2 separate regions of the Homo sapiens genome follow, and region 1 is linked to region 2. The links are contacts of gene promoters, found by promoter capture Hi-C in blood cells and fetal thymus (Javierre and others, 2016). All regions are on one chromosome and are shown on one strand. The core of a region is centred on a gene start or on the middle of the fragment in contact, and the rest is flanking DNA. Distances in the headings are between cores, read along the strand shown.

Region 1 (4,828 bases), core at 2,329-4,828, 1.1 Mb after region 2:
TATGCAACTTAGGAAGTCACTGGGAGATGAGTCCTAAAAGCCTGAATTTCAGGATGGGGAGGAGATAAGAAGCAGAGAACTTTGGGAGACCATGGGGCATTTAGTCCTGGCATAGACACAGAATGGATATTCACAGGAAGATTCCTGAGGCCAGATATGCAGGAGAGCACACATTGTCACAAGGGGTGTGGTGGGAAGAGAGGTGCTGGATGCCTAAGACAGACTTCTGTGCTTGGCAGATTGACTGAGTGTTGACTCTGAATACTTTGTGGTCCAGTCCATAATAGGCCAGTCACTCCTGCCTGATGCATCCCTGTTGCACTGTTCATAAAACCTGTATCATATGGGGAAGCTTCAAGGCTGGCAGGCTTTTCATCAAGTAATCATCATTCCATGTTCCTACGTATCCTTGAAATCAAAACCAGGCAATATGTGTGTTTTTGGTTTTGTTTTACAAAAAGGCATACAATGAGACGAATTCTTAAGATAATGCACATACAGAATCATCAATAAAGTTTCAAAGAGTTTATGAAGAAAAGGTATTTTCCTTTCTTGTAAAAAATGTTATATATATATAATATTCTGATCTGCATTCACCTTAGGGCTTAGCCTCTTATTTTATGAATTTTCAGGCTGTGATTTGTGTTGGATGGCTAAGCTCTAAAATAATGCAAATAGCCCCAATCTTTAAATATAGCGGTGCTAAGTTGAACAAGTAACACAATACAGAAAATGCTGATATGAATACTTAGTAATAATACAAAAGTTCCTGCTAAATTATATATGTGTATCACTGCCTGACTAGAAACCCCACTTTTCTTTTCTAATCCAGCACAAAATCAAACTCTGATTCTACAACCAGTCTTTTTAAAGGGCAAAAATGACTCAACACCTTTGTTTTGTATGGAAAACTTTTTTTTTTACACTAACTGCAAAACTGCTTTAAAAAAAGGCTTATTCAGGATAGATAAGCATGTACTCCTTTTTTAACTTGCTGGAAGACTTGCCCCTCCAAACTAGCACCCCCAAAAGACAACTTCTTTCAGAAACGGGGTGTTTTACCTAAACATAGTAGCTTACATGTTAGCCAGCAGTAGGTCGGCACTAGTGTTTTCCACGGTTATCACCTTTGACAGGTGATGTGCATCTATAGATAGTGGAAGCCACCCCATGAGGAGGTGTTAATAGCAGCATGGTTTCACTTTTGGTAATCAGGTAATCATGTGTATATACTTAGATTCGCATTATTTTAACATTTCTCTGCTACTCTGCACTTCAGGTTCGTTAAGCTATTTTAATAATTACTGGGGTTATGGCAAACACCAATGGAAATGTATATGGCAACTGCTTTCCTGAGCAAGTGTGATTTGTTTTATGGCTGTTCAAGTTATAAAATTGTTCTTACATTGTAGGTAAACAAAATCTTGATGTTTTTAAAGGTCACTGTAACTTAAGGTTCAAATTTCTGGCACAGTTTTATTAGTATTCACTTCGGAAGCTAATAAGATACCATGGTTTTCTATGTTACTCCCATTGTAACATTAGTAAAGTGACTTTCAATAAAAGATTTATGTTATTTTGATGCACGACTCTTCTTTTTCTCCCAGCTAGTTTCTCTTTCAGAAGCTTTGTTAGGGGTACAGTCAAGGGATTGTTTCTTTCCTGTTCACTGGTGTCCCAGAAGGGGTCACTAACATGATGAGAAATACAACCCTTTAGCAAAGCCTGAGTGCTCGATTTGTTGCAGTTTCCTCATCTGGATGGCAGAGGTAGTTTACTTATTTATCTATTTGCCTCTCCTTGTAAGCACTTCCTCTCTCACCCTAATGAGGATCAATTTCCTATATCCTGTCCTGTAGACCAGGCAGTGGTGCTTAGTTAATAAGGTCACCTGTGCTGCATTCTAAAGCACTGAGCCTAGGATGGGCTCATGAGTTCATTGCCTAAAAACTGTTCCACCCTGGCTTTTTCATCTTCCAGGCAGGCATTTTACCTACCCGTCATTATTCTGGCATTTGCGGGGTCCTTGCCATCTGTTCATAGGCTGCATAGTTAATAAGTTATAAGTAGTCAAGGTATTGTTTTAATGTGAGAAAAAGAGAAGGAAGTCACTGATGAAGGGTTTGTACATTTAGTATGAGATTTTAAAAGTTTATGGTGATTACACATAGCTCCATTTCTTGCATTTATAATATTTTAGTCATATAATAAGTCATTTAGATGAACACTGAAACAGTAACTCGGCTGAGCCAAAGCAAAGTCTAGTTCACAGATGGCAGCCAGCTCGTGGACTTGATGGTACCACCTGGAACATCATGCTGAAGGACAGTCTAAACTCCAGTTTGGCTCAGTAGAAGCAAGAGCTTTAATTTAATATGACTGCTGTGGTGCAAATCTACGCCAACTATCCCCAGGAAGCACCAGGTCTCTAGCAGCCACATTCCTATGGAAGTAAGTGCACGAAATGTGTTAAAAGTACTTCATAAATCATGGATCTCTTGAAACACATGAGTAAAGCACACATCTCCAAAATAAAATTAAATCCTAATGAGGGTGATTTGAGGAGCTTAATTCTCCAAATAGTTGAAGTATTCAAGCTTGAGCTCACAGCTTTACCATGCTCCAACTAGATTCTTTAAGAAAAAGTAAACAGACCAGGAAATAATTTTAAAGTAGTGGGTGAGGCTACACTAGAAGTATACAATGAATTAAACACAACCCAACATAAAATAGAAATAAGGCAACAGGAGATTTCACTTGTAATGAAGACTGGCTGTAATTAAAGGAGATGAATACATCAAATTTGTCAACGGGAAGGAAACTTTTTCTAACTGCAGGGACATACTGAAAACTATGCTCCATGCTTTTGGAAAGAATGGGTGAAAGCAGAAGGGGAGGAGATTAAGAGATTCGTTTTGAGGTATCAATAATTAAAACGGAATTAACTGAATGATGTCTAATATGGTTTGGCTCTGTGTCCCCACCCAAATCTCATCTCGAATTGTAATCCCCATGTGTCCAGGGAGGGACCTGTAAGCCTTACATCGAGGGAGGGAAGGGATTGGATCATGGGGGCGGTTTCCCCCATGATGTTCTTGTGATAGTGAGTTCTCATGAGATCTGATGGCTTTATAAGCATCTGGCACTTCCCTGCTTGCATTTCCATCTCCTGCTGCCTTGTGAAGAAGGTGCCTGCTTCCCCTCCCGCCATAATTATAAGTAAGTTTCCTGAGGCCTCCCCAGCCATGTGGAACTGTGAGTCAAACCTCTTTCCTTCGTAAATTACCCAGTCTTGGGTAATGTCTTTAGCAGTGTGCGAACAAACTAATATAATGTCAGAGGGATGCTTTTGTATTCACCCCAAAGCCAATTCAGAACCACAACTGATGCAGCACACCTTGGGACTTGTTCAAATATGGCCCATATCCTTCAGCAAGGGCCTTCTCTACTGCTTATCCTCAACCAGGAAATTACCATTTCCTTAAACTATGATTTCCTCAGAGGACCCTGGTGAGTTGAAACCAAACAGCAGGTGCTAGGACACTGAAGGTGAGCTCCCTGCCTCCTAATCCTCTGAGCCCCTTTTTGGCCCTTTTCTAGATAGCCCAGACTCAAGCAGAGCTTTATGGCCTCACAGACAATATACGGAGATGATGCAATCTATAGTCACTGTGTAATATATAGCAGGCTGCTTCACATTCTGATATGTAACCTGGGCTAACTAACTTGCCATAGTTATATGTTAGGTTTGAATAATATATATTTTAACAATATTTTAAAAAATTAATAGTGAAATGAGGCTAAAGATGCTTAGAGAAAATGTTTTATTTTCATTAGTTGACAACTAGTTGTTCAGTTGAATGGTAAGTTTCACACTGCATCCTAAAATAAGACAGATACTCTGCTGGCAAGTAGAAAATAGACTAATTTCATTTTTTATCTGTTAAGCTCTCTTGATAAAAAAGGCAAACCAGGCCAGTTTTAAATTTAAGAAACAGAAACATTGTCAGTGCTTCTTGTATCAACACACTTCATATTCAGAACTACTCCCAAGAGATAACATATTATCTCCTTTTCAAAGATGGGGAAACTGAAACTGGGCATTATCTATAATGACCAAACCACATAGTAAGAGGCACAAGCCAGCATTAGAATTCAGATCTTACTTGAAAGTGTACAGCTTAAAATTTTTTAAAAAATTCCTTCCATTATAAATGTAGTACCTGCTTACTGGAGAATGTTTGGAAAAGCAGTAAGAAGGAAGAAGATGAACTCATGATCCTGACTCCCAGTGGTAGCCAGATCAATGTTTTGGTACATACTTTCCGATACTCTGCTATGTGTATTTTTTAAAGTGTGAATACATGGTATATCAAAATGGATGTATCAGTATTTTAAAAACTAAAATCTGATTTTAAAAGGAAAGCATATAGAAAATCTGAAAAATACTGATATAAAGAAAATTAAAGTCATCTAGAATTCCATTCATCCAAAATAAACATTGTTAATATTTCCATATATTCCCTTAGTCTTTTTCTATCAATTTTCTTTTTATATAGTTAAGCTTATAATGTACAAGATTTTTAAGGAGAGTTAACAAAGGTTTAAATAGATGACAAAAAGGGACTTGGTGACAGATAGTATTTGCCAATCAAATTATTCAACAGGTTTTGAAGGGCGTGTGCTAAACTTCTAAGGTGAATCCTGACGTGGATTACTGGATTACCTTTTTTGTTGTTTTATTTCACCCAAGTGCGTCTATGTCATTTACCTAAGTTTTTATGTGTGGAGTATTCTTTGTAGGAGAGGAAAGATAACAGCTGTAGTC
Region 2 (5,098 bases), core at 1,451-3,950:
CAAAGACAGAACAAAAATTTTTATCCTTATTGGCTAGGAGTATTGGACGCCTTAGCTCTCCATTCCCTTGATAAGGAAACACTTTTCTGGCTAATATTCTATCAATAGGTCTCAACAAAGATTTACCACAAAAGAAGAAAAAAGTGAAGTGGATATAGAGAGGTTGTCACCAGGCTGAGGTATTAAAAGGATTGCAGAGATGAGACACATAGGCAAAATGCAAGGCGGGAAAAGGATTGTAAGATGGAGTGTCATAAGGCCCAGAGGGAAGCCTACAGGAAGAATCTGAGACAGGAGACCACCTGGTAAAGCCTGGTGTGTGGGCATAACTGGGACAGTTTATTCATTCCTCCATTAGCACAGCAATCTCCATCAGCTGGAAGGCCCTACAGTGTATACCCATCAGCTATATTAACAGGACTCAGAGCCTGTGTAGAAAGAAAATTACTCAGTAATTGTAATTTTCTTTTACTTTGAACAAAAGCTTATAAACATCTTTTTTTTTTCTGAATTAGCAAAAGATGATCATGAAACAACAGAACCTGCTTCTCAGTATTTGAAATACTTTATATTAATATATCAACCTGTCATAAAAGGCAATTTCATCATCAATCACTGATGAGGTTCACAAAAGTGTTATAGACACCTGGAGTCCAACAAAGTCAATTTTAACTAGCAAATGCAGTAAATACCATAGCTAAGCTATAAATACTTTAATAATTATTGTTTAGGATAGAAATACTTCTAATGATTTTTCTACAAAACATTTAATTCCTAAATAGGTAAATCCTTGGATAATATTTAAAACCTCATCCATTCCCTAGGTACACATTGACTAAATAATGAGGTACGGATAACATAGAAGTATAACTGCAGAAAATTGCTCTAGGAATCAAGTTGTGTTATGGATAGTCTTTACATTGATTATTCAAGCTAAAGGGATAGAGACGTTATTATATTTTTTTAAATTATGCATTAAGCTAATATTAAAATACATTTGTCATCCCCAAATAAATACCAATTGACTTGGGAAAAGGTAGTTATAAAAGAAACTCAACCAGAAAGGGAGAATTTAGTTATGAGGATGCACTTGACTTTTTGCGGGGAGTTAGCAGCGTGCAGGCTGACCTAAAATTTAGCAGAGGAGAATGGATAGCCCGACTATAATTTATATATCACTATTTTGTGCCTTAGCAAAAATAATCCTATATGGTTATGTCTTATGAAAAATATGGCTCATTAGGAACCACCTTATCAATGTTAATGTCAACAATTTTGCATATGTAATTATTATTTTATTAGAACTGCTCTTTGAGTAGTTGTATTGCTTTCCTGGCTTTAAGGTTTATTAGTTACCATTTTTAATGCTTAATACACGTCAGATTCCATGCAAACTACGCTGTCTACAATATTCTGGAAGGTACATCTTATTACTCCTAAAGTAAACAAAGCTAAAAGAGGTGAAGTGCCATATCCACTACTAAGAAATGGAGCCAAGATTCACACTCAGGTCTGACTGCCTGAGTCCATACCACGATACTATTCTGCCTCATAGTTTTGCTTACATAAACATTATTATGTACTTATTAAAAAATGGAATGATACACGGCTTAACTCCAACAGAATGCAGAGTGCCACAAATTAGTAATAAAGTTATCAACACAAGAAAATGCTGCTTCTGAGATTTATTTTTGAAAATTAGTCAAACATGTCGATCCTCCAGTAAAGCAAAGCATTTGTAAACTGGTTGTAATCATTTGTTTTCGTTATGAAAGTACTGCCAAAGTGTATTTTGTGAACTGCAACCGGGTAGTTCAGAACACAGGCTTTGGAGCTGAGGCTTCAATTCTAATTCCACCGCCAACTTGGGAGCCCTTGGACACATTCCTTCACTTCTCTTTGGTTCCTGTGTAAAATGGGATTCATTTGTAATAATTGTAGCGATGCACTTAGAACTTATGAACATTAAATGAGTTTAATATACGTAAAACATTTACCTGTCACATACGCACTCAAAGAATGCTGGCTCACATTACAGAACCCAAAGGCTTATTTATCCTTTTCGTTTATAAGGGTATTAAAACGCGTTTTCTATTTAGGATGGGTTTATACGGCTGCAACCCAAGGAGCATCTGTACTTTTAAGAGGAACTGGGCACAGCAAAACAGCATCTTCCTAGTCTAACAGTGAGACTACATTCACAGAGGACACATTTCATCAAGAACGACTTAACACGCCCAGATATCTCATATTATGCCCCTGCGGTAAGGCAAATCAAGTATGAAGACACACACTCCCTGTTTTCTTCAGCACTGAGATCACTGGTTCCCTCCGTTCCACACCGCGGCTCCCTCGGCTCGGAGCCACAGGGAACTATGAAAATCGGCACGCGAGGCCTAAGTGTCCCCAGAACCAGAGGAACCACAGTTGCGTCATAGCAGAAGGACCTCTTTTACAGCATCAGCAGTGGGATAGTCAGTGCCGAGTTTTCCTGGCAGGACAGCCGACAACCACCGCCACAGACCAGTACAAACATTCCAACCCAGGACCTTTTTTCGCGCGCCGACACAGCCGGAAGTGACGCGTACAGCCAGCACGCTGGGCCGCCAGCGGGACAGACGAGCGGGAGGGGCAGCGTGCGGGGAGCTGGGGGCGGGGCGCGGCCGCAGCTCCGTTTCCGGTGGCTCGTCGCGCTCGCTCACTCCAGCTGCAGCCACTCTCGCCCGTGGCTGCTTCCTCCATCCTGGTATTTTTTGGAGCTTCCATCCTGGTTCTTCCAAAGTGCCCGGACCCAAAACAGGAAGTAAGTGCGATGGAACCTTCAGGTTCCAACCGCCGCCAGGGCCGCTCCGCCCAGTGGAGCCTGTCCGGCCCCCTTGCTGCCCGCTAGCTCCCGCCGGCTGGCGCAAGCTGTCGGCGCCGGGGCACTGCGGGCGGGGTCGGAGCCTGGCCTTCCTGACGTTGCAGCTGCCGTCCCCGCACGTTCCGGCCAGGGCCTCCCTCTTAGGGCCGGGCGGTGCCCGTGGCTCAGGCTGCAGAGTAGGGAAGCGAGCGGCTGCCGAGGCACAGCGGCGATCCGGCGGGGGCGGAAAATGGCGGCGGCTTCGGAGGAGCTAAATGGCGCCGGGACCCCTGGGGGGTGGGGTGGGCCGGGAGGTTGAGTAGAGAACTGGGCCAGAAGGAGTGGAGACAGTAAGGAAGCCCTACTTGTTTTCTCGTGGTGTTCTATTTTTAGTTTTTATTTTTGTTACGTTTTCGGTTTTGTTTTATGGTCCAGCGTAGGAGAGGTAGGCTTGGGTGGGGTCGAGAGAGTGGGGGTGGGTCTCGACCCAACTTCCCCCCCTTTGCTTTTTTGTTCTTTTCCCTCGTTTGCGCTTTAGATTCTTCTGTAATTTTGCGGGGGTTCAGCCTTGCTCGGCGATTCACGGCCCAGACATAGAGAATCGGGATAGCTGGCCGAACCGTCTCTCTCAGTCTGACTCTCTTTAAAGAAGGGATGTGGGCTGGGGCGCGGGGACAGTCCTGGTGGAGCACGGAAAATGCGGCTGTAAAGTTGTAATTACCCTATTGTGCCGAGTTCCGAGAAAGTTCTTAAAATTGTTAAGTCCACTTTGTTCTCTAAAATGTACTTCGCTTTGAGAATTTCTTCAGGGAGGTATGTAGAATGTTTTACCACAATCTCCAGAGCAGATTTGAGAGTAGAAGTGGCCAAGTGCCCTTTTGTGCAATTGAATGATAGAGCATATGTCTTTATATAAAATACTCGGTGTAGATAAGGAAAAGGATAATAGTATACAGTATGAGTCAGGACTCCTCCCTTTCTCTCATTGAATTTGTGTAGTTGCTTTTTTCGCAACTCATTCATCTTTGTGTACCTCTTTTTAATGTACATGGATTTGATTATGTGTGCCTCCTTTCTGACAGTCGAGGCTGCATGTTGGGACGTCCTACAAAATGCATATTCTGTGGAATTATTTTTTAATATGACATGTCTTAAGCTTAAAGTGACGCCATTTGGAAAATTTTAAATTATACCTGTATTTTTAATTCGTGGGAGAAAACCATTTGTAGCTTTTAAGCTCCAAATACGAAAATATTCTTCCACTATGTTGAAAGTATTGCAAAATCTGTTTTTTTCAGTTAAGGGTTTTCATGTTTTTTCATTACTTCAAATTTCTTTAAGCTGGTTTTGAAATTATATTTCAAATAGCTTTCTGAGGATTACTGTCTTTTAATAACTTGAATAATTTGCCATCACTTTAACATTTAAAGAATGACTATGGCGATACACCAAAATCTTATCTTTTTGCTCTTATGGTGTACTTAGAGACAGGATTTCATGTATTTGGTTAGGATTTAGAAATTCTGTTAAGATTTAGAGAAAAAAGGTTAAAGCTACATTCCTTAACGTTACAAAAATTGTCATGCTGAGAGAATCCAATTTGGTGTGAGAATAATTTTTTTCTTCCATACAGAAAGCACAAAAACCAGCCTGATTGTATCTGGAAAAAACCATTATGTTACAGGTGTGAAAAATACATTTCATGATTGTGGTGATTTTTATCTCATTTTAACTCTCGATACTAGGTGCTTCTGTATGCCACCAAACAAGCTAATTTTTTTTCTTACTATTTTAGTTGATAGGCTCACCCCAAAATATGCTTTTGGGGACTGATTTAGCACCTGCATATTCTGCGTGAATCTCTTTAATTGGTTGCAGTTGAGCTAATGGTGGAGCCAAAATGCTATTGCCCTGTCTTCATCAACATTTAATCAGTAAGTACTGGGCATTGCATCTTTCTTAGAACTTTAAGTTCATACGTTGCAGTTATATGAATACATTATTTTATGTAAACATTTTTCTGAGTGTTCAGGTTTTAGAAGTATTTTGAGGGGAAGAAATCAAAGTTTGGGCGTTATGACTTGAGCTTTGAAAACAGCATGGTTGGGAAATGTTTACTGGTGGAGACTCATATCAAAAGTAGATAGCTGTCCTCTAGTCCTTTTTTTAGAGATCTCTTTTTTCAATCCTTTAGTTATCTCATTACACCCCAGGGGTGCTTTAAAGGTGGGGAGATAGTGTATGTATTTTATAAGG

The links. The method cuts DNA at HindIII sites, captures the fragments that hold promoters and counts their contacts. A CHiCAGO score of 5 or more calls a contact.
Region 1: a fragment that was not itself captured here is called in contact with the fragment with the promoter of DMTF1 in region 2 in 1 of 17 cell types (erythroblasts); the score reaches 6.6 in erythroblasts.

Annotation. Positions count from the first base shown.
Region 1 is chr7:88,201,308-88,206,135 of GRCh38, forward strand. SRI (sorcin) reads right to left here. Exons shown (of 8, transcript NM_003130.4): 8 at 3,808-4,828. It overlaps ADAM22 (ADAM metallopeptidase domain 22), which reads left to right. Exons shown (of 32, transcript NM_001324418.2): 32 at 1-1,582. Among named protein-coding and RNA genes, the nearest start is that of SRI-AS1, 13 kb to the right of the region's middle. The HindIII fragment of the contact is 1,967 bases long and covers 2,596-4,562 here.
Region 2 is chr7:87,149,753-87,154,850 of GRCh38, forward strand. DMTF1 (cyclin D binding myb like transcription factor 1) reads left to right here and starts at 2,701. Exons shown (of 18, transcript NM_001142327.2): 1 at 2,701-2,803. DMTF1-AS1 (DMTF1 antisense RNA 1) reads right to left here and starts at 2,741. Exons shown (of 2, transcript NR_136253.1): 1 at 2,550-2,741; 2 at 1,671-1,906. RefSeq lists enhancers at 1,771-2,334, 2,250-2,489, 2,335-2,896. The HindIII fragment of the contact is 3,514 bases long and covers 483-3,996 here.